Linked DNA regions of Homo sapiens: all the other regions are linked to region 1. The links are contacts of gene promoters, found by promoter capture Hi-C in blood cells and fetal thymus (Javierre and others, 2016). All regions are on one chromosome and are shown on one strand. The core of a region is centred on a gene start or on the middle of the fragment in contact, and the rest is flanking DNA. Distances in the headings are between cores, read along the strand shown. Region 1 holds the start of KLF4 (KLF transcription factor 4). Region 2 has its middle 320 kb from the start of ACTL7B. Region 3 has its middle 41 kb from the start of ACTL7B.

The links. Contacts are between HindIII fragments. The CHiCAGO score rates a contact against its expected background, and 5 or more counts as called.
Region 2: a contact is called between a fragment that was not itself captured here and the fragment with the promoter of KLF4 in region 1, in 2 of 17 cell types (naive B cells and M1 macrophages). The highest score is 6.1, in naive B cells.
Region 3: a contact is called between a fragment that was not itself captured here and the fragment with the promoter of KLF4 in region 1, in 1 of 17 cell types (M0 macrophages). The highest score is 6.2, in M0 macrophages.

The regions. Positions count from the first base shown.
Region 1 is chr9:107,488,507-107,491,648 of GRCh38, reverse strand. It overlaps KLF4 (KLF transcription factor 4), which reads left to right and starts at 1,880. Exons shown (of 5, transcript NM_004235.6): 1 at 1,880-2,481; 2 at 2,599-2,719. The coding sequence starts at 2,477. RefSeq lists silencers at 1,599-1,808, 2,168-2,367, 3,019-3,068. The HindIII fragment of the contact is 11,219 bases long and covers 1-3,142 here.
Region 2 is chr9:108,533,436-108,536,616 of GRCh38, reverse strand. No RefSeq gene overlaps it. Among named protein-coding and RNA genes, the nearest start is that of ACTL7B, 320 kb to the left of the region's middle. The HindIII fragment of the contact is 1,404 bases long and covers 968-2,371 here.
Region 3 is chr9:108,813,794-108,817,024 of GRCh38, reverse strand. No RefSeq gene overlaps it. Among named protein-coding and RNA genes, the nearest start is that of ACTL7B, 41 kb to the left of the region's middle. The HindIII fragment of the contact is 2,268 bases long and covers 592-2,859 here.

The DNA of each region.
Region 1 (3,142 bases), core at 631-3,130:
GAGCGCACTCTCTGCCCGGTGCCCGAGCTTCCACCACTTTCCCCAGTGTCCCCTCTCTTCTCTTTCCTAGGTTGACACCAGCCTAAGCGCCAGCGTTCGCCGGTGAGGGGGCTCCGTGGAGAGGGGGGCGGAGTCCCGCGCCGAACGCCGGAATCCAAAGTAAACACCTCGCCAAACCTACGTTTAGAAAGTGATACCGAACACCACATTCACGTTTTAAAAAAAAATACTGTTTGCTAAGAAGATGAGAGCAAAACATTTCCCAGCTGGAAAATTACTGATCACAAACCAAGGGGAGAGTGGGGGTGGGGGAGGCAGCGTTATAAGATTGAAGTAAAGATCGCCGTTTCCTATTCCCTTCCCGGTGGGCAAGGACGCCTGCGGCGGGCTCGGTGTGCACTTTTTGAGAGCTAGGATCCCACCGCATCGCTCCACTTCCTGGCACATGGTCACTTCCCAGGGAAGTCCCTTTAGGGGGGCCTGACCTACCCGGAGCCTGAGCCGAAGGAACGAGTTGTCCTTTGACCTTTACTGGCCATTTCACCTCTTTATGACTCAATTTCTCATCCATAAAGTGGAAAGGAGAGTGCGTGGCTTGAAAAGTCATCAGTGAGTGTTTAATTCTTCTTTAATGGGTGTCTTCTATTATTATTATTATTCTACAGTGCAATTTAGTCATCAAATATTACAGGCAGTGGCTCACGCCTGTAATCCCAGCACTTCGGGAGGCCGAGGCAGGCTGATCACTTGAGGTCAGGTGTTCGAGACCTGCCTGGCCAACATGGTGAAACCCCGTCTCCACGAAAAATACAAAAATTAGCCGGCGTCGTGGCGCACGCCTGTAATCCCCGCTACTCGGGAGGCTGACGCAGGAGAATCGCTTGGACGCAGGAGGCGGAGGTTGCACTGAGCTGAGATCGTGCCACTGCATTCCAGCTTGGGCGACACAGCGAGACTCTGTCTCACAAAAAAAAAAAAAAGAAAGAAAAAAAAAGGAAAGGGCTTCGAGATGGCTGGTTGAAAACTGTCTCCGCGCCTCACAGTCCCTCTTCTCTCCCTTATGCCTCTGAGTAAATCTTGAGCCCTTTCACTCCCTTTCTCGCTATTTAAAGTATCAAAACCATAACTCCCCATTCGTGCCTCTTTCCGCCTGTTCCCGGCGGAACACTCCTCTGGCCTTCTCTTGAGGCTCCCAGTTCACGCTGCACAGTGCTGGGCACTGCCTCCTCTCCACACCCCTAGCGCCCCCCACCCCTCAGCAGAAGGGCCCGCGAGGAACCGTGCGAGGTCAGGCCGAGCGCCGGCACCGCCACCGGCACTGGCGCTGAGCGACGAGAGCGGACTCCTGCGAGCGCAGAGAGGGAGGGGGAGATGGAGGGCTGGATGAGTCACGCGGATAATCGCGCTCTTCTCCAGCGCGCAGACAGCGCGGCAAGCGCGTATGCTAGCAGGGGTGCGGACGCGTGACCGTGCCGCCCGCTGACCCCACCAGTCTTCGCGGGCTTCGAACCCAGGGAGCCGACAATGGCGGTGAGTACGGCCCTGGTCGCGCAGCGACCGAACCTGCGCCCGGTTCCTCGCGCCCCGCGCTGGGGCGGACGCCGCCGCCGCCGCCGACACCACTGCCGCCGGCGTCAGCTCGGCTCCAGCCCGCCAGCTGCCTGGCTGGCGTCACGGCCCGGCCCAGCCCCGCCCGCGCCCCTCCTTCCCCTCCCCCGCCCCCACGTGCGCCGAGTTTGTTGATTTAGCTGCCATAGCAACGATGGAAGGGAGCCTCGGGGGGGGCGGAGAGAAGAAAGGGAGGGGCGGGGCATGGGAGAAGGCGGAGGAAAAGGCTGTAGCGAAGGAAGTTATAAGTAAGGAACGCGCGCCGGCGGCCGGCAGTTTCCCGACCAGAGAGAACGAACGTGTCTGCGGGCGCGCGGGGAGCAGAGGCGGTGGCGGGCGGCGGCGGCACCGGGAGCCGCCGAGTGACCCTCCCCCGCCCCTCTGGCCCCCCACCCTCCCACCCGCCCGTGGCCCGCGCCCATGGCCGCGCGCGCTCCACACAACTCACCGGAGTCCGCGCCTTGCGCCGCCGACCAGTTCGCAGCTCCGCGCCACGGCAGCCAGTCTCACCTGGCGGCACCGCCCGCCCACCGCCCCGGCCACAGCCCCTGCGCCCACGGCAGCACTCGAGGCGACCGCGACAGTGGTGGGGGACGCTGCTGAGTGGAAGAGAGCGCAGCCCGGCCACCGGACCTACTTACTCGCCTTGCTGATTGTCTATTTTTGCGTTTACAACTTTTCTAAGAACTTTTGTATACAAAGGAACTTTTTAAAAAAGACGCTTCCAAGTTATATTTAATCCAAAGAAGAAGGATCTCGGCCAATTTGGGGTTTTGGGTTTTGGCTTCGTTTCTTCTCTTCGTTGACTTTGGGGTTCAGGTGCCCCAGCTGCTTCGGGCTGCCGAGGACCTTCTGGGCCCCCACATTAATGAGGTAGGTGAGGCGCGCGGCGCTGGGAGCAGGGAGGGGTGAGGACCGGTGGGACGCGCCGGAACGACGGCCGAAAGCCGCCCCTGACTCTCCTGTCTCCGCTCCCTGCCTTGCTCGCAGGCAGCCACCTGGCGAGTCTGACATGGCTGTCAGCGACGCGCTGCTCCCATCTTTCTCCACGTTCGCGTCTGGCCCGGCGGGAAGGGAGAAGACACTGCGTCAAGCAGGTGCCCCGAATAACGTGAGTATCGCTCCGGGCCGCCGGGAACGCCCGGTGGGTTTTCGTGGGTGTGGTGGGGGCGGGCGGAGCCTTGGGGTCACCAAGAGCCACTGAACGAGGGTAAGGAGCGGCCACCGCGCGGACTCCGCAACCTTCCCGGGATAGCTTCCGTGTCCTTGGCTCAGCTGTGTATGCCCGTGGTGCGAGCACTGCGGAGCCGCCTGGGGCGCAAGCCGGGTCTTCACCAGTCCCCGGGCGCGCTGTCGGTAGGGCGGGCGCTCTCGGGCCACCGGGCGGGAGGTGGCCGCGTCCCCAGACACTGGCTGGGCCAGAGTGAGTTTAGCGCGTAGGCGGCCCCGTGGCGAGAGCGCACCGAGAGAGCCTCGGTGTGCCAATTCCGGGGACGTCCACGGGACCTGGAGGGGGAGGGACCAGCCGCGGCGC
Region 2 (3,181 bases), core at 420-2,919, 1.0 Mb before region 1:
AAATAAATGAATCCAAAGCTTGGTAGAAGGGTGATGCTGGGTTGAGTAACACACATTAGAGGAATTTTTTTTTCCAGCCAAAGCTGACAGTGGTGTCTCCTCAGGTACAGGTGTACACATTTCAAAAGGGCTGAGGTACAGGAGTACACATTTCAAAAGGGCTAGTCAAAGGTGGCCGAGACCTGCTAGAGGTCTGTATATACTATATCAGCAAGCAGTAAGAAAGATCTTCCCAAACCTGTCACTCAAAGCTACAAAATTTTATCTAAAGACGTTGCCATCAGTGTGGAAGCCTATTGAAATGGAACATAAAGTTTTCTTTTAAGAGGTAGAAAAAAATAACTGAAGAGTAATTATTTCCTCTCGTCATATTTGTCCTCTTTAAAAAGATATTGGTCATACCTCCAGTTTACTGAATAAAGAAAAACAGCTGTCATTTACAAAGCACATCCACATATAGCAGGTTATTTTATTGTTAAAATTACATACGAGAATGGTATTATTCCCTTTTTATACAGAAGAGGAAATTGAGACTGGTACTCTGAAGGATATTATGGCTATGGTATTAGCCAGGATTGGCTAGGTTATGCTGTATTAACAAGAACTCCAAAATCTCTGTGTACAACAAAGATGGATTCCTTCTTGCCCATGGGATTTGTCCACTGTCAGTTTGCTAGGGGACTCTGCACCATGCCTGCTTACTTGGGGACCCAGGTTGACGAAGAAGCTACCATATCAAATGTTGCTGGTCATCGCAGCTGAGTGAGAGTGTGAACTCTGGAGGGTCTCACACTGGCAATTTAATGCCCTTGCCTGGAAGTGATACAGACCACGCCTGCTTGTACCTCTTTGGTCAGAACTAGTCCCATGACCCTACCCAGCCACAAGGGGGCCAGGAAATGAAATGCTACCAAGTGAATTTAAGTATAAAATCCAATGTGTAATTTTGTCCAGCTAGATAAAAGCTTCAGTGTTCACTCAAAATCAGGATGTTTATCTTCAAGGAGGGCTTTTGGTTGTTCTCATGGTGATGTTTGATGGAGACCCCAAGCCCTACATTGACTCTTGGCATCCCTATGCCTAGGACCATGAACATTGCTGTTCTGCCTTTTAGCTAAATCAATCACAACAGTATTCTGGCTTCTTACAGTCACCCTCCTAAAACTCAGCCTCCATATGTAGCCAGAGTGATCTTTATAAAACACCAAGATGGCTATAGTTAAAACTGTTTAACCATTTTCTGTTTTCCGAAGAATAAAATACAAAAAGGATGCTTCATGATCTTGTTCTCCCTGTGTCTTCTGTCTTCTGTCTTAACTTTGACTTTGCTGGTTATTCGCTTGTTTACTGTCAGATGCTCTCTTTGCCCTTTTTTGCCCTGCTCTCTATTATAAGGAACTACATTTTCCAGGCTTCTTTGCTCTCTGGCTTCTCAGTTGGTTTGGTCGATAGGAGGACAAGAAACTGGCAGAAGACTGGAGGGCAGGACGAGGTGATAGTCCAGGGTATTTCTTCCCTCATCTCTGCTTTGGGTAGCAGCTCCAGCATTAGCTTTGTCCCTCCAAGACTCCAGCCCCTGTTGGACAGGGCTATCATGGTTCCAGTGTCTTTCTTCTGATCCTGGCCCCTGTGCTCCCTTCAGCATTGGGTGTGTTAGAAGTTTCCTGCTGTTACTAATCTATGAGTAACTCACCACCGTTGTGTGGTTTCTCAGCTATGTGTATAAATGATTTCCTGTATTAAATTCCCTCTGTTTGAATACCTAGAGTGGTTTCTGTTTTCTGACTCTAATTAAACAGTCCTGGACTCTAATCAGTTTTTATTATACATTTGGTAGGTTTATCTACAAGGACACAGATTAAACTACCATTAGTTTGAACATTCTTGCTCTGGTATTTTAACTAGAACGGACTCATATATTGCTGCAAAAAGCATGTAAAAGACCCTCCTGAACAGTGACTCCCCCACCCCCTGCCTCTCCAACATAATATTACCACTTATAACCTCCTGGCTCTTAGATTCCCCTGGCCCCACATTTTGCCTTCTGATACCATTCTCAGATTCTACTTAATTTGGTGGATAGTTTGGATCTCTCAGTCTGCCTTCTGGAACCTCAGTTTGCATGCTTTATTGATTTTAGTAAACCCACAGCTCTGAGACTTTAGATCTATGATTTAAGGTGATGCTTCCACCACTTGGACCTCTCAGGACCCATCCAGCCTCCCATTAGAAGAGAAGAACCAGACATTCAAACATATAAGACTCTTTCATACTCGCATACCTTCCCACATGCTGTTCGTTTCACCTGGGGTCCTCTTCTTCCTTCTCTACCCAGTATGCTTCCCTTGTTCTTCAAGACTTAGATCAAGCTTCACATTTTCTTGGAAATCTTCCCTGAGTTTGGCTGAAGATGGTTCAGATTGATGTTTCAAGGTTCTCTGGACTTAGGCTATAAGATTATCTTGCAGTTGATGGTTTACTTGCCTATATTCCCCAGTAGGCTTTGTGCTTCTTAGAGGAACTGTATCTTTGTTATTACCTCATTCTCTATGCCATTCATGGAGCCTGATGCCAAATAAGTTCTAAGAATGGAGAGTGATCAAAGCATGGTTGAGAGGTTAGCCTGGGAAAAAGCTGAAGTAAAGAATGACCATCTTTCCATTCCGCTTACTCAAATATAGCACTGTGCCATGTCTAATTGGAGAAATTGGACCCTGTGAGGCATGTCATGTTGATTTACCTGCAAATTGTATTCCAGATAGTTGAGCCATATTAAGCTATTGATCAAGGTGTTTAAGATTCTGATGAAAACCTACTAAATACAGCAGCTTTTTTTTTTTTTTTTCAGACGAATTCATACAAAGTTTCATGCTCCTGGCAACAGCAGTTCAACACAGCTAACCACATCTCAAGACCATTTGGTCTAAATAAATTTGAGTAAAATCTAGCCTGTCAGTTTTTCCAAGAATTAGTTGTATCTTTTTTGTTGCTTTTGGATAGCTGTATAAATTGTGGTTTTTCTTTTCTGTCGTAGCTTTTGATTTTGACAGGTCATTGTTTATGATTTGGAAGGTCTCATTGGTAATGTACCTGTGGGATGCTTAATTATGAATATTTAAAATATGAGCTTTCAGTTCATGGGGATCAGTGATTGTTTTGTGATTTTTTTCTCATTACATCC
Region 3 (3,231 bases), core at 476-2,975, 1.3 Mb before region 1:
TACATATAGCTCTGTCACATTCTTTTGAACTGCTGCATAGTATTCCATTAAATGGATTTCCCAGTTTGTTTTTTTGCTTGATAGACATCCATTTTATTCATTATGGTAAACAAGGCCTCAGTGAACACACTTCCTTATGCCTTATCGTAGACATTGGCAAAATGCTTCTCTAGAGTAGATACTTGGAAGTGGAGTTATATTTCTTGTAGAATCCTCTAGCAAGAAATAAAAGGAAGAGGAGAGACAGAAATTAAACCTAGAAAGTTCTAGGGTTGCAGTTAAGTTGGGGCTAATGGGGAATGGTTGTGGGGGTAGTAGGTGAGGTAGAAATGCTAGAGGATTTAAAGCCTTGGAAAGTCTTTGGAAAATCTTATATAGCAATGATGTCATCTTTGAAACTCAGGGACATCTGGGGGACATTCATTGGTTATTATTTTCATGCTTTGGGTATAAAAAAAGCAACTTTTTTACTTCATCCGAGATAGAAAGGAAAAGGGTGTAGAAAAGGGAAGCTCAGTGGGCTTAGGAATGTAATGGAATTTAGAGATCATCTGGTTAAGCACCTTCACTGTTCACATGGGAAGCAAAGCTTCCGAGGGAGACTTGATCCAGGTTCCATATTGAGTTAGTGGTAAAGCTGGACCTCCAGCCCTAAGTGCTGACATATCTTAGCCCAGCTGTAGGAGGGAGAAAAGCAGAAACAGGAAGGAGATAGCTTAGTCCAACTAGGGGAAGTGGTGGGGGCGGCGTGGCGGGGGGGCGCCACACAGGCACGGAAGCAAACAGCATTGCCGCCCACTCGGCCCCCGGCAGCTCACTCTTCCTTTCTCCAGATTCCTGCGGACTTCTTTCTTCAGCAGCATCAAAGAAGTCCAAAAAGGAAAACTAAACAATCCAAATTACAGGATAGAGAAAAAGACCCATTTCCATGTAAATGTTAACCATTCTGCAGCAAAACAAACAGTGGAAATAATGAGGCTTTGGTTTGGATCTGCAATGTGGAAGATGGACCTTGCTTATAAATAGTCTTTAAACCAACAAGTAGAGCCGCAGTAATTCTGTCTTGGAGGGTAGAGGGATGGGGACTGAACACATCACCCTAAAGCAGCTATTCAAAAAGTGTTTCAGGTCCCCTCGCAGTAATTAATAATAATAATAAATTTCAGGCAACAAAACAAACAAAAGGAAACAACAAAAAGCAGGGTTGGATCATTAAAACAAAAAAGCTGGGTACTCCAAAGACTTCTCACAGCGGCCAAGTTATGGAAATGAGATTTGAAACTGTGCCCCTCCAGGATCTTGTCCACTTGTACAGCATAAATCCTTAAATCAGCCTGCCCACCGTAGACTGGATGCCCTTTGAGAGTGCAGCATCCTGGAATGCTGTCTTCTGAAAAACAAATAAAAGATACACAGTTGAACCATATGAAAGTGCCAATATTTGACTATTCTGACTTACCAAAAATAAATAAGTAAAAGCAGCACGTTGAAGGGATTCAATGTAATTTACGCAGGCCCTCAAAAAGACAGTGTCTTTATCACTGTAAAGTCATTGGACAAGCCCCCTCCAGGCCAAATATCAGCAGACAGGCACAAGAGTCACCTGGGTGATTGCCTTAGAAGCCCAGTAGTACTCCAGAGCAAGGTGCACCTCCTCCCTGTGTTGGGATACCTGGGATGTCTTTTACACAGGCACATTCCTGAGTGACTCACCCCACTCCAGTCCTGAATCGGCATTTCTGGAGTGGGCCTGGGAACCTGCATATTAAACAATCACCCAGGTGACTCTTGTGCCTGTCTGCTGATACTTGGCCTGGAGGGGGCTTGTCCAATGACTACAGTGATAAAGACCCTGTCTTTTTGAGGGCCTGCGTAAATTACATTGAATCCCTTCAATGTGCTGCTTTTACTTATTTTTGGTAAGTCAGAATGGTCAAATATTGGCAATTTCATATGGTTCAACTGTGTATCTTTTATTTGTTTTTCTTTAAATTTCAACTGAGCTCTGGAAAATAAGTTTTCTAGATCTTTGATTGGACACATTTGGGGTTAAGAGATTTTTCCAGGTGCGAACATCAACTGACAAGTTTAGGAGCTATTTCAGGGAATACCTTTGAATTCTTCTTTCCATTTGGAGCCAGGAAGTTCAAAGAAACATTTATGGCGTAGCAGGTCTTCAGGTTTTAAAGGTAATTGTATTGTTATTTATGTTTTTAGATCCAACCTCTTTTTAGGATCATTACAAACACCGTGAGAGGGGTTTCTCCCCACATTGCAGAAAAGGATTTGAGTAAGGTAGGCATGTTTGACCTCTTCTGGAATAAGGTAAGGGGATCAGTCAACCAAGACAAAACTCTCAGTGGTGAATTGGTAGGGCCAGGATCCCATACATAGCAAATGGGAAAATTAGACTGTGAACTTAAGTCTTTGGAAATAACCTGGTGCTGTAAAAAAGAGTATAAATGAAATCGAATTTTGGCCTAAATTAGAGCTGCCACTTAGTAGTTAGTTGCATGATCTTGGTCAAATGCAGCAACCTCCTCCAGTTCTGTGTCTTGCAGAGGTGGGCTGGGGGTACTGTTCTTGGGGGAGCTGAGTGAGACCCTCAGTGCCACGCATGTCCATAAAAGGTGCTCAGTAGTTTATTACTAGTGAATTTTAGCCTGGAGGTTTTTCCAAAGATGCACAGCAGCCTCTTGAGTAAGAAAAGAAGAAAAGCTGCAACCCTTCCCTCTGCCCCTAATCCCTTCACACATAAAACTGCCCTGGGGCATTTACCCTCCAAGGGATAATTCCTGGTTGAAAGTAAAGCTGGCACAGCTACTGTGGGCACCAGCAGGTGCCAGTACAGGCTAAGCTTTCAGAAGGGTTGCCTGGCCTGACTTTATCATTTTTTCTGTCTCTCAGTGTGACTCATGAAAGCCCAGACTTCCTTTCCTTTCATCCAGAGTGATTTCTGTCTCATAGCCTTTTGTTTGTTTGTTTACATAATATGTCCACATAACAATCTCATAGCCTTTCTTGCTTGCTATTCTGAACCTGGGAAAAAATGCTCAGGGTTTGCACTGTCAAATATCAAGGAAGAAGAAAGATCTCTTATTTTGGAGATCTTCGTAACAAAACTAGTAAACAGCAGTGGCTACTTTTGGGCAGCACTTCACAGTTGGCAAAGTACTTTTGGATTCATCAGTTCACTGAATATTTTGCGAAGCCCTGGCAAGACTGTGTGAT